Linked DNA regions of Homo sapiens: regions 2, 3, 4, 5, 6 and 7 are each linked to region 1. The links are contacts of gene promoters, found by promoter capture Hi-C in blood cells and fetal thymus (Javierre and others, 2016). All regions are on one chromosome and are shown on one strand. Each heading gives the region's core, a stretch centred on a gene start or on the middle of the fragment in contact. The rest is flanking DNA. Distances are from core to core; before and after follow the strand shown.

What was found. The method cuts DNA at HindIII sites, captures the fragments that hold promoters and counts their contacts. A CHiCAGO score of 5 or more calls a contact.
Region 2: a contact is called between a fragment that was not itself captured here and the fragment with the promoter of FAHD2A in region 1, in 5 of 17 cell types (M2 macrophages, M1 macrophages, M0 macrophages and 2 more). The highest score is 19.5, in M2 macrophages.
Region 3: a contact is called between a fragment that was not itself captured here and the fragment with the promoter of FAHD2A in region 1, in 1 of 17 cell types (M0 macrophages). The highest score is 6.8, in M0 macrophages.
Region 4: a fragment that was not itself captured here is called in contact with the fragment with the promoter of FAHD2A in region 1 in 1 of 17 cell types (total CD4 T cells); the score reaches 5.4 in total CD4 T cells.
Region 5: a contact is called between a fragment that was not itself captured here and the fragment with the promoter of FAHD2A in region 1, in 2 of 17 cell types (M2 macrophages and endothelial precursors). The highest score is 5.4, in M2 macrophages.
Region 6: a fragment that was not itself captured here is called in contact with the fragment with the promoter of FAHD2A in region 1 in 7 of 17 cell types (M0 macrophages, M2 macrophages, M1 macrophages and 4 more); the score reaches 13.6 in M0 macrophages.
Region 7: a fragment that was not itself captured here is called in contact with the fragment with the promoter of FAHD2A in region 1 in 4 of 17 cell types (M0 macrophages, M1 macrophages, M2 macrophages and 1 more); the score reaches 9.5 in M0 macrophages.

What each region holds. Positions count from the first base shown.
Region 1 is chr2:95,401,102-95,405,125 of GRCh38, forward strand. FAHD2A (fumarylacetoacetate hydrolase domain containing 2A) reads left to right here and starts at 1,607. Exons shown (of 8, transcript NM_016044.3): 1 at 1,607-1,771. RefSeq lists enhancers at 377-1,316, 1,246-1,325, 1,317-2,255, 2,396-2,515. The HindIII fragment of the contact is 5,947 bases long and covers 1-2,549 here.
Region 2 is chr2:95,740,952-95,744,976 of GRCh38, forward strand. No RefSeq gene overlaps it. Among named protein-coding and RNA genes, the nearest start is that of LINC00342, 84 kb to the right of the region's middle. The HindIII fragment of the contact is 3,708 bases long and covers 127-3,834 here.
Region 3 is chr2:95,761,318-95,764,955 of GRCh38, forward strand. No RefSeq gene overlaps it. Among named protein-coding and RNA genes, the nearest start is that of LINC00342, 64 kb to the right of the region's middle. RefSeq lists an enhancer at 692-1,606. The HindIII fragment of the contact is 2,546 bases long and covers 182-2,727 here.
Region 4 is chr2:95,007,287-95,011,393 of GRCh38, forward strand. It overlaps MAL-AS1 (MAL antisense RNA 1), which reads right to left. Exons shown (of 8, transcript XR_007087136.1): 7 at 1-4,107. Among named protein-coding and RNA genes, the nearest start is that of MAL, 16 kb to the right of the region's middle. The HindIII fragment of the contact is 4,346 bases long and covers 618-4,107 here.
Region 5 is chr2:95,666,279-95,670,316 of GRCh38, forward strand. LOC101926959 (a long non-coding RNA gene) reads left to right here. Exons shown (of 2, transcript XR_007087142.1): 1 at 1-146; 2 at 1,639-2,446. Among named protein-coding and RNA genes, the nearest start is that of TRIM43, 76 kb to the left of the region's middle. The HindIII fragment of the contact is 796 bases long and covers 899-1,694 here.
Region 6 is chr2:95,721,898-95,725,506 of GRCh38, forward strand. No RefSeq gene overlaps it. Among named protein-coding and RNA genes, the nearest start is that of LINC00342, 100 kb to the right of the region's middle. The HindIII fragment of the contact is 7,546 bases long and covers 1-3,609 here.
Region 7 is chr2:95,696,166-95,699,822 of GRCh38, forward strand. No RefSeq gene overlaps it. Among named protein-coding and RNA genes, the nearest start is that of TRIM43, 110 kb to the left of the region's middle. The HindIII fragment of the contact is 2,968 bases long and covers 612-3,579 here.

The DNA of each region.
Region 1 (4,024 bases), core at 357-2,856:
CCACCACGCTCGGCTAATTTTTTGTATTTTTAGTAGAGATGGGGTTTAACTGTGTTAGCCAGGATGGTCTCGATCTCCTGACCTTGTGATCCGCCTGCCTCGGCCTCCCAAAATGCTGGGATTGCAGGCGTGAGCCACTGCGCCCAGCCTTCATGTCCCAATTTTCTGTCTGTATATCTTATTTGATGAAATGTCAGTTCAAATATTTTGTCCATCTAAAAAATTGAATTGTTTGATTTTATCTACTGACTTTTAAGCATTCTTTCTATATTCTGGATACAAGTCTTTTTATCAAATATAGCCTTTACAGATATTTTCTTCCAGGCTGTAACTTAGCTTTTCAGAAAGTCTTTGGGAGCTATGGCTTAGTGAAACCCTTGTGCCAGGTTCTCCTCAGCGAATCCCCCTGATCACAGCCACCCCCATAGGTTCCATTTCAATATCTGTGGTGACCTTCTGCAAGCTAGGCTGAAGTCCCAAGCTCCAGACCCATGTCTCCAACTGCCCACCGTTCAATGCCCTTTGGATGTCCCATGCAAATCGGAGCTCACCATCCTCTCCCCAGACCCGCTGCTCCTCCAGGAGCCCTGTCTCCATGAACGGCCCTGCACCTACCGAGCTAGAGACCCAGGAGTTGGCCTTGTACCTCCTTCCTTCTCACTTCCACCTCCTGTCATTCAGAGCTGTCAGTTCTTCCTCCTGAACATCTCTGGACACTCACCTTCTCCACCACGCACCGCACCACCATTGTTCTCAACCGCACCACCCACCCAGACACCTTTCCTCAGACGGGTGGCCAGAGAAAAACTTCTCAAATAGAAGTCGGGACATGGCACGCCACTGAGAACCTTCCAGCGGTCTCCTGTGCACGTAAACAAGGTCCAGACTCCTTCGTGGGACAAGTAAAGCTCTTGATGATCTGGTCCTTGAGTAATGTGGGGGCCACTTGTACAGAGCCCCTCACACTGTTCAAAGTCGGCAGCTGAAGAGCTGAGCAGTAGCTGTCTGTGGAGTTCAGCTGCCACTCCCTACACGCCTGCCCTCTGCAGGGGATGGAGTCCCGTTTCCCCACTTCCCCACCTGCGCCCAGCAGTGCAGGTGAAGGCCTGGCTGCGGAGAGTGGCTGGGAAACGCTGCGCTTTGGGGTCAGGAATGCCAGCTCCACTACTCACCGCCTGTGTCACCCTGGGAAAACAGCTCTGGCCCCAGGTTCTCCATAAGTAAAACGGGGGCAGTCATCCCTCCCCTCCTCAACGACATATGTCAGAATCAGAAGCCACAAATCATTCTCTGCCACCCAGCACGCTGCCTTGGTCTCCTAGACCACTTTCCCCAACAATGGGAAAGGCGCCAGGCCCAGAACAAGGCCGAGACCGGATGAGGCCAGCGAAGCGCCCAGGGACAAACCTTCGGGCAGCGCCCACTCTCGAGTTCAGGCAAGTGCAGGGTCCCTCCGAGAGAGAGCGTCTCCAGAGAACGCGGCTGGCGCCTGGCTGAACCCGTAGCCTGAAGACCCGCCGGAGCCGCCCGCCCCACGATGGGCCCGCCCCTCCGGGATTGGCGCCCTGCTAGTGGCCATTGCCTGTGACGTCACAGGATCGCGCCCGCTTTTCTCTCGGGTGATCCGGCCGAGTGGCCCTGGGTTAGCAGCTGCTGCATTTCCCCGGCTGGCTGCGGTCACTGGTGGCAGTGCTCAGGCGCCCGCCGCCCTTGACCTTCGGCCCCGCGAGCTCTAACCCTACAGCGCAGGAAGATCGGCCGCCGCGGCCAGGTAGGACGAGCCTGGCTGGGTCTAGGCCAGAAGGGTGTCCGTGGCGCCGGTCTCCCGCGGAGCGCAGAACTAGTACCGGATCCCCAGCCGCTTCTGACCACACAGACGGGGCGGACCTGTGTGAGCACTCACTAACTGTCGGGGCTGGAGCTGGGCATATGGGGAAACTGGGGGACCGGCACGGGTTCCAGGCGAGTGGACGGTGGGATGGAATCCGACGTGCACACCCATGTCTCAGGCTTTGTTTGATGGAGGCTACTGTTTCCACCTCATGTCGCCGCCCCTTTGCTTATGGACTCTTGCAGAGTTGGATTGAGCTCGGGCTGTGTGATATAGTGGTTGTTGCAGAAGCCCCAGGGCCACTTTCTGACTAGTACCTTGGGCACCTGACATCATCCCTTTGAGTCTCAGTGTCCTCTTCTTTAAAGTGAGGGCGCTCTACCTGAGGAGATTGCTGTAAGGTTGGAATGAACCTGCATGTGTGTGTCATGTGGGAAGGGAACAGTCAGTGGGGCCTGGGGTTCTCTTGGAGAGCTGGTAACCAGCCTCGTCCCTGAGGCAACAGCCAGAGGGCGCCTGTAGTTTCCCCACGCATGTCTGTTAGCAGTTACGGCCTCTGGAGGATCTCCTGTGGGAGGTCCCTACTTCTCACTACAATCTTTAGAGACTTTGGAGGATTTCCTATGGAAGGTCCCCACTTCTCACCACAACATTCTGGGTTAAAATGGCCTTGGTAGGGGGATGGGGGCTGAAGCTGGATTTTTTTGCTTGCATTACAAGCTTCTGAACCAAGGACTTCATGTCACCTGGACTTGGATTCACATCCCAGCTCCTTCCTCTCCTAGCTCTAGGACTGTGTAACCTTGGGCAAATCTCTTAACCTCTTTAAGCCTTAATTGTTTCATCTGTAAAATGAGGCTAACAGTACCTACCTTCCACAATTGTCGAGAATTAAATCAGACATTGTAGGTAGAGCACTTAATAGTTGGCATTCAGCGGCAGCAGTTACTGTTATGTTAGCATGTGGAGTGTCTGAGTGTGTGCACATTGGCTCGAACAGCCTTTTGACAGTGGCACAGTTGGTGCTTGTGTAAGACAGCAGGGCAGAGAAGTCAAAGCCCTCGGTTTTCTAGTCAAACTGGTGGGCCACAACAGTGGTGACCTAAGTCTAATGAATCTTCAACTGAACAAGGCAGATTGAATCTCCAGGTGAGGACCAAGAGTCTGGGGATCAGCTGCCTCCACATTTTTGGGCATAGAAGGCTGTACAATACCGCCTTTGTTGTAAGAGCAAGGAACCATTCAGGGAAGGCACCATGTGGTAAGGAATAGAGGCCAGACGTGGATTAAGAACAAAACAAGAGAATAGTGTTTGTCTTTAAGTGGAGCCTTGGACTCAAAACAGGATCTGAGCCCTGAGGATTTTTTTTTTTTTAATTGAGATGGAGTCTTCGTCTGTCACCCAGGCTGGAGTGCAGTGGCGCGATCTCAGCTCACTGCAACCTCCTTCCCCTGGGTTCAAGCGATTCTCGTGTCTCAGCCTCCCTAGTAGCTGGGATTACAGGTGGCTGCCACCACACTCGGCGAGTTTTTTGTATTTTTAGTGGAAACGGGGTTTCACCACGTTGGCCAGGCTGGTCTTGAACTCCTGACCTCAAGTGATCCACCCACCTCGGCCTCCCAAATTGTTAGGGATATCACGCATGAGCCACTACAACTGGCCCTTGTGGGAAGGCACAGCCATGTCTCCTGAAGTTAACAAGCACTAAGCTTTCCCAAGTAGTGAAATGTCAAGCCCCTGCTTCTGTCACTTATTTGTTCATTCAGCAGAAAGTCACTGAGAGCCTTCTGTGCACCAGGCACAGTGCTGGGCAGTGAAAGAGACAGACATGTGCCCTGGACCCAGGGAGATGACAAGTGATGGCTGTCAGGCCCAGACCCTGTTGTTTGTCTGCAGCCTCTTCCCTCAGGCAACTTGTTCTCTATCAGGAGAAACGAAATAATTATTATCTGGAGAGGCAGGTGGGGGCGCTGCTCCTAGAAGACTGGGACAGCCTGGTAGAGGTTCTAGCTTGATCATGTGAGCAGTGGAAACCATTTTAAGTAGGAGGTTAACAGGACCAAAATAGCATTTAAAAAATTGTTTATGGCCACTGTGAAGCCAGTTTCACCAGCGTCACTTGCCCATGCTGGGCTGCCACCCAGCTAATTCCTGGTCCTGCTCATTTAGCCCAGCTCAGCTCACATCACTTC
Region 2 (4,025 bases), core at 731-3,230, 340 kb after region 1:
TGCTTCTTCAAGTATCTAATAATTTTATATTGTGTCCTGGCCACTGTGGAGGCTATGTTTCTGAGAGTCTGGACTTTATTGCTTTCTTTTAAGGAGTCATGGATTTTACTGATTTATTGGTGGATAAGCTTGATCTTACTGAGTGTTTGTTTTAGACTTTATTAAGCTCAGTCTAGAGTTTCCCTTATTCTACCGCTAGAGAAATCCTATTCTTAAGTCATGGCCTTTATTGGGATCTAAACTGAATGCTGAGGGTGTTCAGCAACATCTTTTCACTCTACATGGTCAGAACTCCAAATTCTTTCAGTACATGTGATCTCTGGAATCTGTTCAGCTCTATACCCCACCCTCCCCATGACTGTTCTCTGCTAGGCTTTAGTATTTCGTCAAAGATTTAAGATAACCCATGTCCAGCGGATTACAAGCCTGCATTGTCTGTTATCCAATATCTGAAAAACAGATACTTTATATATTTTGTTTAGTTTTTATAATAGACCACAGTAAGAGGGTACTCTTACTCTTACTCTTACACAGTAAAAGGGTACTTTTATTCTCTCATGCTTGGAACCAGAGGTGTCTCACTTCTAAAACTCTTTTGTGAAGCTGGTGCCATGGTGCTAGCCAAATTCCCAAGAATAACAGTGCCTCCTTCTTTGAGATTCCCAGCGGGATCTGTTTTCTTGCATTAATTTAGATAAACCAATTATTACCCTTGGTTTACACCAATAGGAACAGGTAATGTGAGAGTTCTGCCCTACTGTCTGTCAGTCTGACAATAACTAGGAGACTATTCCACTCTGGGCACCACACTTTTAGTGAGACATAGGCCACCCAGAGCTCAACCAGAGGAGAATGGCTAGAATGTTACAGGTAATCCATTTTGTTGTGGATCAGTAAATAGAACTGGGGATATTTAGACTAATTTCTTTAACCTTAGTCTTTGTTTTACGAATCATTGTGATTGCTACCAGACTTTATTCTGTCAGCAAAATATTTTTAGGGATGACTATTCTCTTCCTTGCTATTTCTAATGTATGTATTATTTAATGATATGTATTTAACTATGTAGCTTCTCAATTTTTGTCCAGAAAATTACAAATTCCTTTTCAGTTTTTTTCCATTTTATGTTATCCTCTTTGAGCTCTTTGTTTTGTGAGTTAAATTCTTATTAATTTACTCTATAGCATAAAATAATTGTGAATAATTTCTTCCAATTCTTTGTGGCATTATCACCAAGGCTGACTTGTCCATTGAACACAGTAGGCCCAGTGCCTAAGACCCACAGTACTTTCAGGGGCCCAGGAAAGTGTTTTAATTTTTATTTCTTTTAAAGGCAAAAAATAAAGATAACAATATTAATCTATAATATTAAGTTCATATTGGATTATATTAAATAACGAAAATGAGGTCACAAAATATTGTGTTTACGGAAGAAGAAGCTCACATAGACAAAAGTTCCTAGAAGCCACAAAAGTCATAGCATGACCCTGATTATCATCCATAACAAAATTAACATGAATTCCTTGGTATCATTTATTACCTTTCTCATAATTGAATTTTCCCAACTATATGAACATTATTGTTTTATAGTTGACTTGTGAGCCCAGGATCCAAATAAAGGGTAACACATGAAATCTGATTGTCATGACCCTTGAGTCTCTCATCTAAACTGGCCCCTCTGCCCTCTTAGCTTGACGCCACTAACCTGTTGCAGATATTAGGCTAATTGTCCTAACCAGATTGGTTGTCCTACCACTTAGGACTTTGTGTATTTGCTTCTTTGTGGTGTCACTTACTCTCTTTCTTTATTTCCTATATTTCTTGTAATGGAAGCTAGTTCTACAGGCTTAATGAATCCATGTGTAACTTCTGCGGCAAGGACGTTTTACAGAAAATGAGGTGTGCTTCATGCCTGTTCACAACGGAGGCTTCCAATGTCTGTTAACTCCAATTTTATTGGTGCTAAGGTTTATTGCATTCAGGTAGTCATAGATTATTTAATACATGAATATTGCTGCCTGAACATTTTTTATTAGGTTCTGAAATTGGTGACTTTTTAACTTCATTCTTGTCACAGCGGTTTTCCTCGTCACAACTATTTTGTTCTTTACAGTTCACACATAAAAGTTTGGATAAATGCTTATTTTCTCCCCTAAAATGCCAGTTTTTATATTAAGTAGCTCGTATACTTGTTGATTCTATTGGTATTCAATGGATTATTTCCTTTTCCTGCTGTAAACCTCACAGGTAACCACAATCTCATGGCAATGAGTTGCCCATAACTGGCATGTGGTCCTCTTAACCCTGGTCTCCAATGAAAGGAAACAGGGTTCCTTAAAGGATAAGGAATCAAGTTTCCTTGAAAGAATGGCTGATTCTGGGTCTAGGGCAGGAAACATACAGATGATCCTGGAATATTTTCCATGCCAGAAAGCTAGGAAGTTATCAAAGAGTAATAGCTTGAGTCAAAAGGACATAGGGGCTCTTACTAGTCAGAAATAGATCAACAAGAACATAAAAAATAAAAACGATTAAAATAAATTGACTCAGGCCAGGCACAGTGGCTCATGCCTGTAATCCCAGCAATTTGGGAGGCCGAGGCAGGCAAATCACCTGAGGTCAGGAGTTCGAGACCAGCCTGGACAATATGGGGAAACCCCATCTCCACTAAAAATACAAAAATTAGCTGGGTGTGGTGGCAGGAGACTGTAATCCCAGCTACTTGGGAGGCTGAGGCAGGAGAATCACTCAAACCCAGCAGACGGAGGTTGTAGTGAGCCACGATCATGCCATTACACTCTAGCCTGGGTGACAGAGCAAGACTCTGTCTCAAACAAACAAACAAACAAACAAAAACAACAAAAAACCCCATAACCCAACAAAAAAACAAAAAACAAAGAAACAAAAAGAAACAGAAAAACAAAAACAAATTAACTCTATGGGATCTCTGAGCTCACTGCTCACTGTAGAGAAGGAAGGAGGGAAGAAGAAAGACAGAGAGAGATAGAGACACACACAGAGACAGAAAAAGACAGAGACACACAAAGAGAGAGAGAGAGAAAAAAATATACGTGCATATGCAATTATGCATGTTTTTAGACAACACCAAATTTCCCTTCCATAAGAGTTGCACCATTTTGTATTCCTTCCGGGAATGTATAAGAATTCCCGTTATCAAACAGGCTCACCATCTGAATAAATTATTGAATTTAATAGCTGAGAAGTGGCATCTTGGTATAGTTATAGGGAAGAACTGACAGAACTACAAGGAGGAACAGATGAATCCATTACTAAAGTTGAAGACTTCAACACTCATTGATCAGAAATTGGCAGACCAAGCAGGCAGAATATCAATAAGAACATAGTCGAACTCAACAACACCATCAATCAACTGGATATGATGAACCTGTACAAACTACTTCATCCAATAACAGAAAATTACACATTCTTCTCAAGCTGGCATGGAACATTCACCAAGATACCACATTTTGGGACACGAAACACACCTTAACAAATTTAAAGAATATATGTCATATACTGTGTGCTCTCAGACCACAACAGAATTAAACTACAAATCAATAAAATAAAGACAGCTGGAAATCATCAAAATACCCGGAGACTGAACAATACTCTTTTAAGTAATATCTGGGCCAAAGAAGAAATCTAAGGAAATTAAACAAGATTTTGAACTAATGAAAATGAAAAGACAACTAATCAAAATGTGTGGGATGTAGCAAAAACAGTGATTAGAGGGAAATTTATAACATTGAATGAATTAAAGTGATTCTTAGATTCTATATTAGAAAAGAAGAAATGTCAAATATCAGTAATCTAAGCTTCCACTTAGGAAAGTAGAAAAAAGCACAAATTAAATCCAAAATAAACAGAAGAAAGTAAATAATAAAAATTAAAACATCTCAATGAAATTGGAAACAGGAAATCAGTAGAGAAAATCAGCAAAATCAAAACCTGTTTATTTGAAGGTAGGTGAAACTCATAAGCCTCCAGCCAGGCCAAGAAAAAAA
Region 3 (3,638 bases), core at 205-2,704, 360 kb after region 1:
TCTGCCCACGTAAGTGCTGTCAAAAGGCAGAGGCAATGGGTGGTGGGTGGTCAGGCGGGCAGTGCCTCTCACCTCCCAGTTCGTCTGTCTTCTGTCAAGTGGGGCTGCGGCAGGGCTGAGAAGACTGTGTTCAAAGCATCCGGAAGGCCTTGGGTTGTCAAGGGCCCCAGGCAGCACATGAAGCTTTGAAAGGTGCCCCTGCCTTGTGCCTGGGCAGGCTCCTTCCCTGCTCTGGGACCCCATCTTGAGCAGACTCTGGAACCCACATTTCCACCATTAAAGTGCATTCCTCCAGCCACTCTGGGTCTCTATTAGAGCCCCTTTGAGATGAAGAGACCTGGGTGGGGAGCATGCGGGGCAGGGGCCCATCTTCAGTGCTCTGGCATGGGTTCATTCCTCAGGCTGCTCCTGCAGCCACCCCTAGCTGAGGACAATGCCCAGATCCACAGTGGCCTGAGAAGTGCTCCCAGCAGAGTGAGCAGAGCTGGGCTTCGGTGCTGTCTGCCTTCTGTCCTGCTGCAAGGCTAATCACCTTCTGTTTCTGGGCCTTGAATCCCTTTTACAGCATGGGGGCTGGATGCTCTTTGAGCTTCCTCCTGGCTTCAATCCTGAATACCGACACCTACTTGTTTGCAGTTGTGTGACTTGGTCAAATCGTGTAACCTCTTGAGCCTCAATTTTATTCTGTGTGAATGAAACAGACAGTGAAAGCCCTGAAGATTAGATTTTTAGATTTTTGATAGAAGAATTGTAACAGCAGTGACCCCATAGCCCTTTACCATTTGCAAGGTGCTTCAGACAAAATATCTCGCTGGTCCCTCCCAACAATTCCGCCACAAAAGGTGGTATTACTTTCATCCCCAGCTTACAGTTTGAGGAACGAAGGCCCAGCTATGGGGGCAGGTGCAGAGGTGGGCCTCGCTTCCCGGTCTCAGTCTCTGGATGAAGGGCAAGATCCCTGCAGCTAAGGACGAGGGAGTGGTGGCACAGAAGGTCCGGCCTGCTGGTCTTTCTTTCCCAGCCTGGGGCATCTCTGTGAAGGCCGATGAGTGGCGGCCCCTCCCCAGGTGCTGGTGCCAGGCAGCGGGGAGCTGCTTCTGACAGCTGTGCAGACAATCATCACTTCTCCATCGCTGCTAATAGCAAGGTTAGCTTGCCGACTCCTCTGTTTGCCGGGTGCCTCCCACGGACCCAGAGCTTGGAGTTTCTTCATTGCCTGGGGTGGGGCAGGGTGGCAGAGGGGCATCTCTGCTCCCTGGCCCTGGCTGCAGCCAGCAGCTCCACCCAGGGCCCTGAACTTGGGAGGCGACTGCAGTTCCATGCCTTGGCTCCCAGCACCCCAGGGAAGTACATCTGGGCTCTGGAACAGCAGAAACGGCCTCCTGCAAATCTCCTACCCGACACAGGACCAAGTGTGGGAATGCTCTGGTCCAAGGGGCTTTCTCCAACTCTCTGGACCACAGGGAGCCGGCAGGATGGGGGACAGTCCACCTTCAGATTACACCTTTACCTCTGACTCAGACCCCTTTGCCTCCCAGGCCACCATACGACGTCTCCTGCTTGCAGATCTGGCCATGCTGGAGGCAAAATGGATCCCCAGCCCCTCAGTTGTGACCCTTCCTAGCTTGTTAAGTTAGTAGAAAACTCAGCTCACAATCTCGGGGACTGCTCCTCCCCTGGTTCATCCACAAACCCCAAAGGTTCATGGGATTCCTAAAAGCAGCCTGACAAATTTCCCTCCTGTGGGGAGAAGACCCTGTGGTCTGGCAGGACCCACTGCCCTTGGCTAGGTGCCCCTTGCTTTGATCCTGGGTCTGGCTCCTGCCTTAGGAGCCTGCAGACCTCTGTGGGGCCACTCCCTGGTGACCCACCCAGCCCAGGAAGGATGGACCCCGCAGTGGACAACACTCGGTTCTGTCCATCTCCCTGCCTTGGGGAAGTACTTGCTTGTAGTTTTAATTTACCTTTGACCCTATGGTGCACTTCTGGAATGTTCCCTCCATGAGGGTGGGGACTTGGTCTTGTTCACGGGGATCTCTCTGGCACCTGGAGCAGCTGCGTAGCCCAGGGTGCTCAGTCATCGTCTGCTGCCCGAACAGATATGTGCAAGTTTGTCTTCTCACTGCTGTTAACATTATTGTATGAGTAATTTTACAAGTTTACCATTTTTCTTGTAAGTATAATAAATATCCCACCTTATTGACCCACAGTTCCCCCTCCCAAAACTTGCAAAGTATTTTGGCTGACTTGACTTGTTTACTATGATAAATAATGTTGCTATAAACAGCTGTGCACATATAGCTATTTTTCCCTTTGCAATTATGTTTTTGGGAGGAATTCCAAACAGTGGGGTTAGCGGGTCAAAGGGCATGGCGTATTTATGGTCCTGGATGTGCTGGGACTGCCGAATTCTCAGCCCCCAGGCCACCCCTGTTTTCCCTGAGGTCTAGCTCTGGGTGAACACCCACAAAAGTGTCTGTCTGCCCGAGGCTACCCTGGCCTCTGTCTGGCTCCTGCGGTCATGGAGCAGACCTCATGGCGCGGGAGCTGAAGGTGGCCATGGGAGTTTGAGGAGGGGAAGAGGAGGCAGCTGTGGGAGTTGTGGAGATGGCTTCACGGAGCCAGGAGCCCTGTTCCGGGAGGGCAGTAGGACCCCTCTTCTCCCAGAGCCCTGGCCTTCTCTTGGATGGCTCTCCTGTCCTGGAGCCATCCCACCCCCTGCAGCTAAGCTTCCACCCCCAGTCTCTGAGAGGGGGCAGTGCCCCCTGTAGGCAGGTGTCTTTGGGAGAAGGGAGGGGACCCAGTGCCTCAGCCTACTCCGGACTTTCTCCTGTGGGCCCTGACGTGGTGTCATGTGGGGGAGAAGTGCCGTGGAAGCTAGCTGCTGAGCAAAAGGTCTTTATCACTGCAGAAAATGTGCCTGAGATTTGCCCGCCTTCTGCCTCCATCCACTGGCTCTGCCCCTCCTCTGCTGCTGGAGCCCCCTTTCCCCACCATTAGCCCCAGACCTGCAGGCCTGGATGGTTGAAGGGGAGGGGTCCACACTGGCCCCTCATGGGATCTTCCGGAACCTGGCTCCTACTGGAGGGCAGGGTATCCAGGGTGGCCCCTCCCTAAGTAAATCTTCCCATCCTGGGAAGACCTATTCTCTGTCTGGCGATGCCTGCATTTTATGGGGACCCCAAGGCTTTCCCCTGCCATGGGGTAGTGTCTTGGAGGTGGGGCCTGCTGTCTGTAAGGGCTGGTGAGCCCCGGCCCAAGCAGGGCTAGGCAGTGCCCTGTGGCTCAGGCCTCAGTGGCATGGGCGTAGCCCGTGCTGGGAGGGAGGAATGAGACTCCCTGTGTCCCAAGGCTCTCCCTTGGAGCAGGCTCTCTCTGCTCTCTCTGTACCTCTTGCCCTATCCTTTCTGGCTGCAGGTCCCTAGTGGCAGGAAATTCTGGGAAGCAGTGCAGAAAGAGCACTGGACTTGGGCGTTCTCATCCAGTCTCTGTTACCAATGGGCTGTGGGATCCAGCCCCTACCTCAGTCCTCAGCCGGACATTTGCCTGTGGCCTTGTGCAGCACCTGCGGCCTTGGCAGGGTGGCTGAGGGTGGCTGAAACCCAGGTTGTGGGAGGATCTGGAAGGAGCCTGGCTCC
Region 4 (4,107 bases), core at 1,541-4,040, 390 kb before region 1:
GTTCAGATTGGCCACTCCCTCCTTCCTCGGCCCCTGGGCAGCCAGCCTCACCTCCAGCCCCTGGGGTGGTCTCTTCCCACAGGAGCTGCCACCACCTTGGGCCGCCTCACTCTCTCACCTGGCCTCTGGTCAATGGGAACGCTTTGGCTCTTCTTTCCCATGACCCACTTGGGCTCCAGCATAAGAGCAGGCTGCCAGCCTGACTTCACCCTCTGGATCATCCAAGCCTGGGTCTGAGGCCAGTCTCTATGTCCCTCATGCTGCGGGGGTCCCAGGTTAAACTCTCCCAGCAGGCTCCTTAAAGCCCTTACTTCGGATGGACTAGACCAGTTACACCCCTCTTCTACCCCCAGGATGGCTCCTGCCCCCACGAAGCTCTTTCTGAGGCCCACCTCTCAGCCTTTCCTCCCTCGATGAAAGGGAGCTTTGAGGGATCATGCAAAGCATTTTCCCAGCCCCTCCGTGGAGATTCTGCAGGTGGTTGCCCCAGGAGAAAAACACAATCTCAAAGCGCTCTCAGGATATTTGCTAGGAAAGGAGATGCTAATGGTGAGGAAAGCCAGAAGCACTGTGGGATTGGGGTTCCCAGGACAGCCGCCAGCCCAGTCCTGGCAAAAAGCTTCCTTATAAGGGTATCCTACTGCAGCGCTGCCTCGCAGCCACCTCTAAAGGCCCTTTCTGGGCCTCATCAGCCAGCAAGCGTGTCACATGCCTGATGTCACAGGGCTGTGGCTGTGGTCATGCACATGGAGACAGCTCCGCTCTCAGCAGGCGCTCTTGTCTCTGTCACAGAACATTTTCATTCTGGCACAGCTGTGCACCTGCTCAGTAATGTCTCCTGTGCCCTCAGAGGGTCAAGTTGAGAACCCGCTCCTCAGCTTCCAGTTAGTTGTATCTGGCCCTCCTCCTTGGTCGCTGTAGAGGTCTGCTCCTCCCTGAAATGCGGAGCCTCTTGTCTCTGTCTGTCTACACCAAACTCTCCGTGTAAGCATCTACTGCACACAGGCAAAGCAAAAGGGGTCCCTCCCTTTCATGTGTATATGTGTATAGAGTGTAATTGAACATCTTTCCATCTTATTGTAGGTACACATTGTAGTGTGTCCCCATGACAAATCCCAGAATCCCTACAAGGCAGGTGTAATGAAACCCCCGCTCAGCTTGGCTTAAGGCCACCCGTTTCTGTTACAGTCACTTAAAGAGCAGTGAGGGGAGCAGGCTCTGGCCAGCAGCCCTTGACAAGCTCTGGATGCCCTGCTCTCCATGGGCCCAGCCTGTGCACTGACCCTGTCTCTGAGTCACCATGGCCCAGGGAGGGTTAGAATAAAGTAGAGAATTATTAAATAAACCAAACCCAAAATAATAATATTTCATGTAAGTTTGCACATAGTTTACAAATTCTAGGTGTTTCATCAAGTTTAAAAGAAATTAGCCCTAATGGAGTAAATATTCACCTTTTTTGCTTCTAATTTAAAATATGTCATCAGCTGAGCTTTGTGATTTTTACTTAAAATGTCCTAAATTTATAAGCAGTATAGAAGACTTGAGAGAACTCAAAATACACCATATTTCTAGATTTAATCTATTGGATTCATAAGTTGTTTAAATATTCAGGAATATTTTAAATAATTCTAATAATTAGAATACTTACAGGAAAAACAGAAACTATTACATTTATAAATACAATTCTAAAGGTTTAAGGGAATTTAATCCTTAAGAAATTATTAAGAAATAAAGTTGTCCTTAAAATGATTGCCAAAAATGTTAGACAAAATATGTACAATTTTCAAAATATACACGTACAATTTTACAATTTGCTGGCTGAAATTAAATGCCTGAGTAAAAACTGGGTTTTTGAATGTGTGGGTTTAATGAGTGAGATATTAACTCTATAAAGCAGAGTAACCTCTGGTTAACCTTTCCTGTAACAAAAACTTTCTTCAAGGACAACAAAAGGTGCCATGAAGGAGGCCTCCTTTCCAGGGCCGGTCAGAGGAAGCCAGAGTGACCCTAAAGCCCACAGCACTGTGGGCAAAGAAGTGGAATAAAGAATAAAAAGAATAACCATAACTTAAAGAGGGCAAGTCTAGTCAAGGTAACACCTGCCTACCCAAGGGGTCACAATCTTTATATATTGCTCCAAAGTTTCATTATCTGGGCAATAATTTCAAAATTCATCACGTATCCCATTATTATATAAATCTACTCTTCAATTCTTTGTAAGGTTGAACCCTGCTCAGCGCAGGGACGTTTTGCTGTGGGGCTGTGCAGCCTCAGCAGCTGGGCCCTTGCTGGCCAGTCCCTTCCATGGCCCTGCAAGGCGACCTGGCAGTGTGTTCACATAATTATGTGTTGTGTAAATTTCACAGACTGTGAGTATATCAATAACAAGTTTAAAAATGGAATTGCTGAGACCCAGAGGCAACTGAGCTGGTTTGGGGCAGAATCAAACACTGTAGTTAAGACCCTGGACTCTGGGCGGGGCACCATGGCTCACACCTGTAATCTGAGCACTTTGGGAAGCAGAAGCAGGAGGATCACGAGCTCAGGAGTTTGAGACCAGACAGGGCAACAACTGGCAAAACCCCATTTCTACAAAAAAAATGCAAAAAACATTAGCCGGCTATGGGAGGTCGAGGCTGCACTGAGCCATGATCGCCACTGCACTGCAGCCTCAGCGGCATAGTGAGACCCTGCCTCAAAAACAAAAACAAAAAAAGACGGTGAACTCTGGAGCCCAAAAGTGCAAATCCCTCCTCTGCCATTTTCTAACCGTTGTGATTCTAGGCAAGTTTTTCCATCTCTCTGTACCTCTGGTTCCTTATCCTTACAGTGGGCATGCCAGCATGACTGCCCTGGTAGAGCTGATAGGAGCTCATCTACAGCAAGACTTGGCCCAGGGACTGCTGTACAAAGACCTGAGAGCTCTGAGTGCTGCTGCCGCCACTTCCCAGTGGAAATCGGGGGTGTGGGCTCTCTCCTTGGGTCTTAGTCAACTCACGCTGCCGTAACCAAATACCACAGGCTGGGTGGCTGAAACAACAGACATTTATGTCTCCCAGGTCTGGGGGCTGGAAGCCCGGAGGCTGGGTGGGAAGGCGGCTGGGGCAGCTTATGCAGAGAGAGGAGAGACAGGAGGCCCTCCCAGGGGTAACGAATGCTGAGGCCGTCGTTTAGTAGCCACTCATATGGGGTGGGCTCAGGACAGGAAAGCCTCCCTTAACCCCTCAACCACCCCACGGGGAAGTACCACCAGGATGCCTGCTTCACCCATGAGCATGAAAGAACTTGCCACAGTCTCCAGATGGTAGAGGGCTCTGGTGTTCATGCCATGTGATCCAGCACCCAGTAGGCCTCATGGAGCTCACTGAGGGCCCATTCCTCAGGCCCTGTTAAACACCACTCCCTCCGCCTCGAGGAGGCCATTAAAACAGTTTTCCTTTCTAATGCTGCTGGAGCCTGCAGAGCTGCAGGAGTGGGGGCCTCGCCTTTCCCTCCTCTCCACTCCATCAGTCCTGCCTTGGGTTCCCTGGGCTCTAGGCCTGGCAGTCTGCTGTGAACAGAGGTCTAGAGGTCCCTGGTGACCAGCAGTCCAGCCCAGCGCAGGCTGGCAGTGACCTGCCCTACTCCAGCTGCAGAGCGATGAAAGCCCAGATTACATTCCAGGGTCTCTCACTAGGCCATAAAGCCTACAGCCCATTGGCAGCCCTGCCCCTCACACACTGCCGCCTGTGTGCCTCCAGCTCCAGCACTTGGAGCTGTGACGGCGAGAGGCCTTCTGTGCCTTGGGCTCTGCAGTGGGCAGATGACGGGACGCGGTCATCTGTGACTTTCTCTAAGACCTCGGGCTTGACTCCATGCTGCCATCATTCATTATTAGCTCCATCCTCTTCTTTGCCTCCAGTCTATAGAGAGAGATTTTTTTTTTTTTTTTGAGACAGAGTCTTTCTCTGACGCCCAAGCTGGAGTGCAGTGGCGCAATCTCGGCTCACTGCAAGCTCCGCCTCCCGGGTTCACGCCATTCTCTCGCCTCAGCCTCCTGAGTAGCTGGGACTACAGGCACCCGCCGCCACGCCTGGCTAATTTTTTGTATTTTTAGTAGAGACGGGG
Region 5 (4,038 bases), core at 47-2,546, 260 kb after region 1:
AAATTGTGCCCCATTTTCTTGGAGGATTGGGAAGAGGACCTGTGGACTGGGCGGCCCACACAACTGCTGTAACCTCAGGCAGTTTTCAAGCAGATTGACCTTCCTGCTGGAACACGGCACATGAGGTGAAGTTCTCCTCTACCCAGGTCTGTCCTTAGCACCTTATGCAGGGTTTAACCCCCATGGGCATAAACAGGGTGTGTATCTGGGGTGGTTTGGGGATTAGGTCCCATGAGCACTGGGACCTGAAGATGCTTGGTCTAGAGAAGGGACGGTGTTTGGTCTGGGAAACATGGGGGTCATGTTTAATATTATATAGACAGTCACATGGGATATTTAATTAGCAATGTGGAATTTAGAGAGAGGCAGGTTTCACTTCACCTTTGGGAAGTACTAGGTTCTAACACACCTCCCTCGCCTGGAAAGAGATTGAACTACCACAGATTGAATCCCTTGGGAGGAAGGAATTTCAGTCCCTGAATGTGGACAGCTGAGGCTGGATGAGAACAGAGAGATGTCAGATGTCCAAGCTTCTGTGTCCACTCCCTGAGAGTCCACTAGGGGAAGCCAGTCATCATGGTAGCCTCATGTTCATCTTCATGTCTGAGGTTCAGCCCCAGAGCAATTTCCCTGTGGCCATCTGGCCGGGAGACATGTTTCATTTCTCTCCCAGAGGAACAGGCACTTCATTTCCCTCCCAGAATAGATCCACATCCAGAAGAATGTAATGGAGACAGGCAAGAACACAGAAGATTGCATAGGTTTAGGAAAGAAGAAGGCAACAAGGTTCTGTTGGGTTGCATCTGAGGAATCTTAGGTACCTAAAAAAATAGGTCTGGAATTAAAATAAGATGTTAGTGTTGAAGGTATAGAAATGTGAGTTAAAATGATGGCATGAAGCTTATCTAGGGAGATCACGCAGCTCCAGATGATTGTGGACTGAATGTCTTGTAGGGTTTTGGGTAGGATGAAATGTGAGTGGAATTTGGCCATAATCAGCCCTTAGAGTTGGCTTGAGCCCTGCCCTGGCCAGCTGTGTGTCCTTGGGTATGCCAACGTGCTTTCCTTTTCTGCATAACGGTGAGATTGTCCACAAGATATTTAAGGTTCTTCTAGCTTAGACACTGTAGAATTTACATTTTAAGGTTTTCGGGATTCAATTCAAATTCCAATCCAGAAGCAGATATCAGGGCCGATCTGGACCACCTCAGGAGAATAGCAGGGTCAGTGTCCAGAGGGGCTGGTCATGATGGGAGGGTCTTGAGGAAGGGAGACAGAAGAGAAGGATAAATGTGACTTGAGGTGGGAAAGAAAAACTTGGACTGTCCTCAGTCCCTTCAGTCAAGCATTGCAGAAGCTGTGTCTGCCTGCCAATTGCCTGCCAGTCAGACTGAGAATGTCCCCACAGGACCTCACAGGGGTTGCCTGGTCCATGTTCCACAAAGCAGGAACAACTGCTGGTTAATTATGCAGACACAAGGTGAGGAGTGCAGCTGTCTCTGGAGTTAACTCTCAAGGAGCTGCAACTTTAACAGTTAGCTCCCAGCCAAATGTGGGGGACAGGCTTTTCATGGTCCTAGGAGAAATAGGTCTACTGGGCTTGTCCAACCCAAAGCCGGTTGCCTCTATCGCCCCCAGGGTTGCTTGGCCTTGCCTCCACCATGCCTGACACTGGCGCTCTGCTGGGAGGAAAAAGCTTGCTCTGTTGCTGGCTGTGTGGAACAGAGAGGGAAGTGGCAGACAGTCTGGGCCCAGCACTTGGGTATCGTGCTCTAGCCATGCGACTCATCTCTCCAGTTCAGACCTGCCCCTGGAAAAAAGAGCCCAGACCTCATCATGAATGCTTTCCTAGGAGAAAATGAACAGCTGGACAATGCTCCTGGTCAGTAGGCCTGAAGGATGCTGGGATGCAGCCCTCAAGATGGAACAGCCAGGATGCCAAGTATCCCTCTTGCCCAGATCCTAAGGCACTTTTTCTACTGATCCATATTGGCCTCAGGAGATGTCTCAACACAGCACCCCAGCCAATGGAGCTGCCACATAAGATGAACTCTTGATCATCTCTAAACTAGAGAGTTAAACTCAACACTAGCAAACGACTTTGGGTTTATGCATATGTCATGTTTTCTCTGGCAACTGCACAGAATCATCTCTAAATATCACATCTATGGTTGGCAGGAGTGGCATGTATAATACAAAATGTCTGGTGGCCCTACTGTCACAAAACCTGTATAAAAGTAAATTCACAAATGGCTTTTTAGAACTGATGACAAAAAGTTACTCGTTATCACTTTTCTAATTAATTTCCTAAAAGGGCAATTTGAAATCATACTGGGATTCTCACAATTTTGGTTGACAGTCAAGTAAATTGCAGCTACTTATCAAGCACTTTTGAATGAATACATGAAGAATGAATAAAATGAAAGCTCTCCTGTTGCCCTCAGCATCACCAGTGTTCTGTATTTCTTCCTGTAACCTTTCCATTGGTTTAAAAACCTTTCTCAAGTGAAAGCAATCTCTTTAAAAACTGCAACATACTGCTGATGAGTTTTTGCTGTGGAAACATTCTCTATGCCTGCAAACCAAATCACCCTCTCTCTTTTCCTGGGAAGCACATCTTTCTCAGAGCAGAGCTTTGCAAAAAGGGGAAACCAAAGCTTCCACGAGGTGATAGTTACAGCTGCTCTCTCTTCCTGTTGCCCCAGGTGCCAAGGTGCAGAGGGGCAAGGCGGCAAGGCCTAGCCTGGGCAGAACTTGTCTGTCGTTAACTTTGCAAACTGACTTTCTGAACAACTGTGGTTTATTTCACTTTGATGTATATCTACTCAACTACTCTCTAGTACGTTTTCCTTCCTAACTGTGTTTGCTGTGACTTATGGTAAGATCTGAGTGTAGTTCCTGAGATGCTCTATAGGGTCAACAATGGGGTGTGTTGTGATGCTTGATATAAATGCATAACCAGGCAGCACGTGGCATGGTGCACACTCAGACCTGCCTGTGAAGGCTTGGCATTTAGGTAAGCAGCATTCATACATCCTCCTGAAAAGAGCCACCAGTGTGGGCTTATTGTTGTCCAAGTGTACCAGGGACTCTAGGTGACCTTTGGTTTGCTAGTAATCCTGTCCCTTCCTTTTCTGCTTCCTGCTTGGGTTGCAAAGCCATCACTCCCCACCACCCCTGCCCCTGGCCCCCAACAGAGAGAAGGGTGGAGCTAGCAAGTTGGTGTAATGAATTCATGCTGAAGTCTGAGATTGAGGAGTAGGGTGGAGGAGGAGAAACACTTTCTGAAGAAGCCACCAGGCATCACAGAATTCTACGTGCCTGAGATGGAAGGAGCACTAAGGGGCATCCAGTCCAACTTCCTCATTTCAATAAAGACAAAACAAGAGCCAGAAGGGGGAGGTGGCTTATAAAGTTCACAGAGCTCATTTTTGAGAAAACTAGGACTGTGCAGTTTGGGTCTTCTGACATCCAATCTCCTGCATGTCCATGTCCCATGCTGCTCCAGGGTGGACTGTGAACATTAGTCAGACGGTCCCCTGAGAGCATCAGTAGTCTGTGAAACCTGAGTCTCAAGGCTGAGAAGCTGGTGGAAGTAGCCTTGGGTTTCTGGATAAACACACTTTTATCCCCGCCTTTTCTAGGCTCTGCATTCCCATTGAACGGGAAGATTTTATGCATTTCAAGATAGTTTAAAAATATTTATCATGTCATTTAATTCTAAAACCAATTTTGGAGCAGGACTATTATTTCCATTTTATAGATAAGAAAACTGAAGCCCATCCAGAGATGGTGAGTAGCTTATTTAAAGTCATAGTAGAGCTGAGAGTTTTAAGTGGCTTGTAAGAACCCCATGGCTGGGTTCTTGGGCTTCTCTTGCTGGCTGTCCAGCTGGGCTCTGCTGCACTTGTTAGTTACATGAGACAGTCTGCATAGATGGTTAGGGACAGCTTCGCAGTAGGAGAAGGGACTAAGTGCTATAATCTGTTTTAAACTATGAGAACTTATCTCATTTGGATGTTTACTGGTCTGAAGTAT
Region 6 (3,609 bases), core at 21-2,520, 320 kb after region 1:
AAGATCCTAATTTCAAACAGAGGCCCTTGAGCAGAAAGGTGATGTTCTTTGTCACACACAGGGTGACACCGTCACCTGCAGGGCCCGAATGAGAAGCCAGTCTCCCGGCTCCTGTCATGATCCACTCCCTCTGCTGACCTGTCTACAGAGCAGTTTCACTGGCCTGCATCTCACTCCCATGCAGAGGCGCAGAGGACAAACCAGACGGGCAGCTCGTGTCCGCAAGATGGCAGGTGCCCGTGCTGCTGGCCGCCCGAATGTTACAGGCTTTGGAAAGTGCATCCTCTGAGGACACACGATTTCTGAAAAGCAGAATACACCCTCCCACCTGCCCCCCGCACTTCCTTTGGTCTTTTTTCTTCAGACATATCTGCGACTGAACATGTTCAACGTCTCCCCTGCACCAAGCAGATGAATGAGCCTCCTGACAGGCTGTGTGCTCTCTCTAGCATGTTATCTTGGGTTACGGAAATTGGGCAGATCTCCCCTTCTTTAGTTCCTCCCCACACTTGGAGTCCATAAAAGGCAGGGATATGGGCAACTTGATCCTGGACGTCAGCATTCTTGGGATGGTGTTGAATACAATAAAACATGCTTATTAAATGTCAACACTGGGCATGCATAAGTGGATATTTACTGAGTGGCTACCACATGCCAGATGTGCTATCAGGCCTTGCTTCCACCCTCAAGGTTTAGTGGTCAGTGAGTCCCCAGGGCCACACTCCAGCCCATTTCCGCTGCCAGAATGCCATGCCTCCATCTCATGTCACCCCTCCCATTTCTCTTCCCTTCTCTCGATGGCCCCATGTGCCTTGTGGTCCTGATGGGATGCAGAGAAGCACTCACCCCAGGGGGCCTGACTCCCCAGAACAAGAAGGCAAAGTCACTTGCTGAAAAGGGAGGCGAGGGTGCAACCAGGTGCTCCAGAGGCCTGGAGAAGGTTCTGGGCTCCAGGACAGGGAATGTGCTTAAAATGAATATGAGATGGTTAAGACTCTGCTCAGCTGGAGAGAGAGACAGCAAAGGCTGATGGGGACCTTCAGCCTGACCTGAGGTTTTGCCACAGACTTGGTGGAACTTTGAGAGGCAGGGGCTGCAGTAGGTTAGTGAGGATGGTGGAGGGGCCTGACTTCTGCACGCAGGCTGGATGAGACTCATGCCCAGTGGACTGGGTGAGGGGAAGCCCAGAGAGATTGGGGACCCTGGGGAGACCAGAGAGGCAGAGGTGTTTTTCAGGGATCTGGGGAGGTGAAAACCATAGTGGTGGGAGTGAGGCAGCTCCCAGTGTGAGGATGCTAGACAGACATCATCCCAGGGATTAAAGTTGGTCAGAAACAATAAGTGTAGTAGCAATGTTTACTGAGCCCAGGCCCCAGGATAACTGCTTAGCATGCATTTTCATATTTAACCCCCACAACAGTTTTCCCAGGACCTGTAATGTGTCAGGTACCATCAAGGTCATGTCACATTCCTGTGTCCTTTAGTTGGCCTCTCCACACCCCAGATCAGGAACCTGAGGAATAGAAATGCTTCATGAATTGCCAGGGATCCTCGGCTAGCAGGGAGCTGAGCTGGTCCTAGATCCTAGGTCTTCCCACTTGAAACTCACAACTCTTTTGCAAATGTCTCAGTTGGTTCTTTCTACTCAGAGAAGCTAGTGAGAGTGACATCCAGAACAACCTAAGGTAAGATGCCACCAGGGGCTCAAATATCTGGTGCCCCCTGAAGCCTGGGCTGGAGAAAGGGAAGAAAGAAGTGGGGAGCTGTGACAGGTCTCAGAATGTACCAGGCAGCACTCTGGCACCTCAACATGTGGCATCATGGAAAGCTCATAAGATTTGTGCTCAGAAACTCTGTGCTGCTCTTATTAATGAGAGGCCTCCCGAAGAGCTTAGTGTGTACTGGTGGATAAGAATGCATGCTGAGGTTAACTCTCAGAGCTGCCAGGAAAACCAAAGGAGAGAGTGGCTGCGAGAGTGTGTCACAAAGCTCACTTGGAGTGATGGGACTTCTATTCATTTATTTGACAGGTGTCTATGAGCACCTGTCATGTCATCATACAGATACTTGGGGCCTCAGCCATGACGAGTGTCTAGCTCCCAGCAACATTACAGTCATAACCAAAGAGTGGTGAGTGCCACATCTCATAACTCCCCCAGGTCATTTGTAACTTTTGAGGTCACTCTCTTCTTTTAGTCCTAATACAAGCTGCAGTCCCTGACCTTTGGCCCTTACGTAAGTTGGTCCATAAATGCTGTCTTAATGCTTTTATTGAGTAGATTTCACCTGGGGGTAGAACTATAGCCCAGAGGAAAGGTCCTAGACAGGTGGGCTTTTTCTGCAGCCCAGACCCTCTTGAAGTAGCTTGGGGTCAAGATTGGAGCCTCCTTGCCTTTGCCGCTTAAACCCATAGACTTAGGGCTCCTTCTAGGGGAAACTTCACCTCTGTTCCTGGTTGTAAGACTTCCCTTGAAGCACTACATCTGAGTACAGAAGTACTACATCTGAGGTAGATGAATACTGGGGAGGAGAATGGTGAAATCTTGCCCAAGTTGGCAATTTCAGGGAAGTAGAAGAGAGTGACTTTCTCAGTAGGCATGCTCTTAACTAGTTCTAAGTAATGATTTGGAATGTTTTCATGTTTTACCTAGCTCAGTTTGGTCTTTGGTTTGGATCTTTCTTGTCCTCTGATTTCCAGAAAAGAATGTCCATTCTGGTCTCAGCTCCTCCTCCTTAGGTCATTTGGATCACTCACTGAGCTCCCAGGCAGAAAGAGAGTGGAACTTGAGTTGGACCTGCCATGAACTGTGTGACCTTGAGCAAGACCCTTGACTGCTTGAACCTGAGTTTATTGAACCTGTGAAATGGGAATAAAATTATTCACCCAGTTTAGGTCAGGATCAAACTACCATCACCACCACCATCACCACCACCACCACCACCACCACCATCACCACCATCACCACCACTATTAACCCTTTTAACCGAGTGAGCATTTATTGTGTCCAATGTTGTGCTATGAAGTTTACGTGAATTATCCTATTTAATCCTTACAACGATTCTATGATATAGATGTTAGCAGCACTCTGAGTTTGCAGGTAAGGAAATAGAAAATGCCAATATAATTTGCCCAAAGCCATGCAGTTAGAAAGTGATGGGACAGAAATTTGAACACAGGCAGACTGACTCCAGGGTCTGAACTCTTCAGCCTCTGCTGCAACTTAGGAAGCAGGTCTTGCCTGGTTCCTCATCACTGTTGAAACTTCTCTTTCTCTTTTCTCGCTGTCTTCCTTCCACTTGGATAACTGGATTCACCTTTCATTAACCTGGATTCAAAGAAGCAAGAAGGCATCTCTTCCATGCACTGACTAACTTCTTTGCAAGCATGCTGCTTTCATCTTTTGTTTTCCTAAAGATGCCTGCAGAACTACATCCAACATGGCTGATACGTGGACCTTTGCATATCAAATAGCTTGGGAGGGTCATGACTGGAAGAAGAGGAGACGGTGGCTTGTGGAATGAACCCAGTTTGTGCACTTTCCCAGGGCATGGGGGAGGAAATGACAGTGACTTGTTGCTTGGGAAATGCTGATGGGTGGCCTGGTATCT
Region 7 (3,657 bases), core at 846-3,345, 300 kb after region 1:
CATTCCTTTCTGCAAATGGGCTTCCATAAGGAAACACGAAGTAGCTCACCAGACATGTCTAGTTATGTGCAAACTCCTATAGAATCAGTTTAAGATTTTTTTGAGCGATATCTCATTTCTGCTGTAATCAAGGGATCACACAGATTTTTGAGAGAAAGGTATTTCCCAGCTCCATCTAGGAGAGTGTTCCAGGGGCTCCCTTCTGGCCCAGCTGGGACACCTAGTTATTCCAATTAGCAGCGATACCTAGGCAGAACTTTCCTGAGGACCGAATCTGCCAAGAGTTAGTCCAACACATCCACTACCACCACAAAGCTCAGGACCACCTTCCCACCCCACTATGGCTGAATAAACCATACTCCTGGGGCAAGACATGCTCCCAGATCCCTGCACTGAATTATCTCATCAGGCAAGACCTCCACTATTTTGGGAAATAGTTACTGTCTTCTGTCTTACTCAACAGGGCACACTAAGGACCCAGAAGGGAGAGAACATTTACTTTAATTAGTATGGACTATAATGCAGAGAACCTGTAGCCATGAATCAAGTGTATTCATACCAGAGTGGATGTGTCTGAGAGAAGGCAAAGATCTCCTTTTTTGGACTCATGAAGCTTCATGAAGTGTCTTCTCTTGGTCACTTATCTATGGGCCAGGTGAATGTGCCATATTGGATCCTTGTCATAACACCTCCACTGCCCATAATATCTTCTCCCTTTTCTTTCCTTTGTTTCTTTTCTGTATCCCTTCCTCCTTTCCTCCCTTTCCTTCTGTACCTTCCCTCTCTCCTTCCTTCTTCCTATACACCTCACACGCAGCTGGGTACTAAAGGGATGAGGGATGGGTAAGACATTGTCCTTGCCCTTGAAGGGCAAGCACATCATATGGTGGGGAAGGCAGATGTGTACACAATTAACTATAATAAAATATGGTGAGCAATATAATGGAGATCTGCCCAAAGTGTCCTGGGAGCACGGAGGAGGGAGCAAAGAAGCTGCCTTAGAGGTCATCAGGAAAAGCTCCACTGAGAAGGTGATTTCTGAGCTGCCTTTTGAAGACCAAATAGGAATGTCCAGGTGTGTAAGAATGGGAAGGGCTTTCCAGGCAGGGAAACTGTGAAAATAGTGCATGGCATATAGTCTGATTTGGCCAGTGATAGAGTAAGGAATGCAGGAACATTTGAACAGGTAGCTCAGGATCAGTATGGGCTGGGGTCTGAGTGTCATGCTTAGGAACTGCATTTTGTTCAGTATATGATGGAGAGCCACACACAGAATTTTTCTTTGGGCAACACTTCTTGACTGGCAAGGCTCACACGGCAATACTCAAGGTGGGCAGTGAACTTTGTGTGTAACTGTGTTTAATCAACCAACGCATCGAGTTTTTATTAATGGCCAGTGTTTGCAAGGTTCTATGTTAGCTACAGTGAGACTGCAAAAGACGCATTATGATTCGTATACTATAGGAGGTCAGATTCATCCTCACTTAGAAAAAGTTAAGGGTAAGGAAGGGGAGTACAGTACAAGATTGTGTGGTTGAAGGGCTGAGCGAAGATAGCAGACAGCAGAGGAGTCTGAGTAGGTCTCCTGGAGGAGGGGGTCTGAAGGATTAGCAAGAGGCCATTCTTCATAGGGAAGCCACATGGGCAAAGACTTGCATGGAATGTGTTTGGACAGTGAGGAATCTGGCCTGCCTGGACATACACTGGGATGCTGGGAAAAAAGAGGAATACAGAGGGATGGCCAGATGAAGGAAGTTCTTGAAGCGAGGTGCAGCATCACAGTACCTCTGGGTGGGGAGGAACTTTAAAACCCTTCTAGAAAAACTATGTATGCCTCACCAGTCCTACATGTGGGTTTCCTCTGTAATATCCCTATATGTGATCATCAGTCTTTGTTGGGAAATATTTCAAGATGGGAAAGATCATTTCACCTTTAAATGCCTCTGTTGGAAAGTCCTGTGGAGCCTAGCTCATGGTTTCTGCTGTTCACTGATTTCAGATATCTCTCTGTGTGTCATCAGCATCTCTCCCTGTTTGCTGCAGAGCAGTTCTTCTGATTTTCTAAACAAGCTCAGCAACTTTTTAACTTCCCCTTTTCCAGGTTGGAAACTCAGTTTCTCCAACTGTTGTTCCACAGGTTCAGCTGGTGAAAGCGCTCCCTTTGATTCTCCTTTGAAGCAGGATCTGCTCAGGGCTGTGTAGTCTGGACACAGTTCAGTGGGTGGTGACTAGCCTCTGTAAAATGACGCGTTTTAAATGGTATTTTGTGAAAATGAGGTTGGGCTCAGAGTTCAGGATAGACTGGGATGATTCAACTGCAGGAAGGTAAAATTTGGGGGACCTTGGCAGGAGTTTAGGCCTAGGACTTGGATCGGGGTGATGGGGGTCAGGGGATAAGTAGGAAAGATGGAAGCCACAGGTCATTTCAAAATTTTAATAAAAGAAAAGCGAGACAATGATGACTTTAAGTTTTCTAATCTGAAAGCCATGGCAATAGCATGGGCAGAAGTGGGGTGGTGGGGAAGGGAGCTGACTGGGGAACGGTTCTGAATTTGCTGCTAGAGGAGGCTGTGGACATACTCTGGGAGCCCAGGTTCATGGTTAGATTGGAAACATGGGCTTTGGATTCATGAAAAACAGGGAACCTGTATAGGGAGTGAAAATATACAGAGGAGAGAGCCATCAAGAAAGACTCCTATAGGAAATCCTCAGCTCGCAGACTAGAAGAGCCCAAGACCCCCACAAAGGAGATAGGGACTCACAGAGTTTTCCGGAGAGCAGCATCGACAACGCCTAAGTAGAGGGCTTCCAAAAGGAGAGAGTGGTTAGTGATAGCAAACGCTCAGGAGGATAACGAAAGTGAGGCCACTGGGTTTACCTAGGGGGAAGTCAGTTTCTGCAGACTCAAGGGGGTCAAAGCGACCCTGGTGGAGATTCAGAAGGGACTGTGTGTCTGGATACTCCTTCCCAACACCCCCACCGCAGGAGAGCTACATTTTCCCCTCTCCCCTCAGCCCACTGGTCCCTCCCATTGTCTATCTTCTTGCCTTCACTCCCAGTTCCTCAGTGCTGACCACCAGTTGGTGGTCTCCTTGGTGGCATGGCCGAATCACTTTTCCCCAGGGGGGAAGGTGGGGTATTCTCTCAGCAGGGTGCAGCTCCTCAGGGGAGGCCAGGCCCACCCAGGCTGGCCAGCCCACTGTGAGAGCAGCCTGCACTGACAATGCATCTGCCTGGCATGTGCATGAGAACCAAGGTGCTGCTGTGGCAATGACAGCCTCACAGGCCCCTAAGGTTGGAGCTGAACTAGGGAAATATATTTTACTTGACATCTGAATGCTATGGTTCCCAGGGGTCAGAGGGCGAGTTGGGAGAAGCTCCACCCCTCCCTCTCCCTGGCCAGCCCTTTCCCTACAGGGAAACCCCAACACCCTGGTGCATCCTATGAACTCCCTGTTTCTATCTCCCTCAGCACTGAGCAGTCTTCTTTCCCCTGGCCATCAGCTTCTTACTGCCCAGAAGCTCACTCTGGTCTACGCCAAGGGCAAATGTGTCTGCTAAAGTGAAGGGTGATTTCCAAGCTTCTTCGGCAGAGACCCCAGAATTCTAGTAATGAGGGAGACAGGTTATGCCAAGCCTGCTTCTCCCAGGATGCAC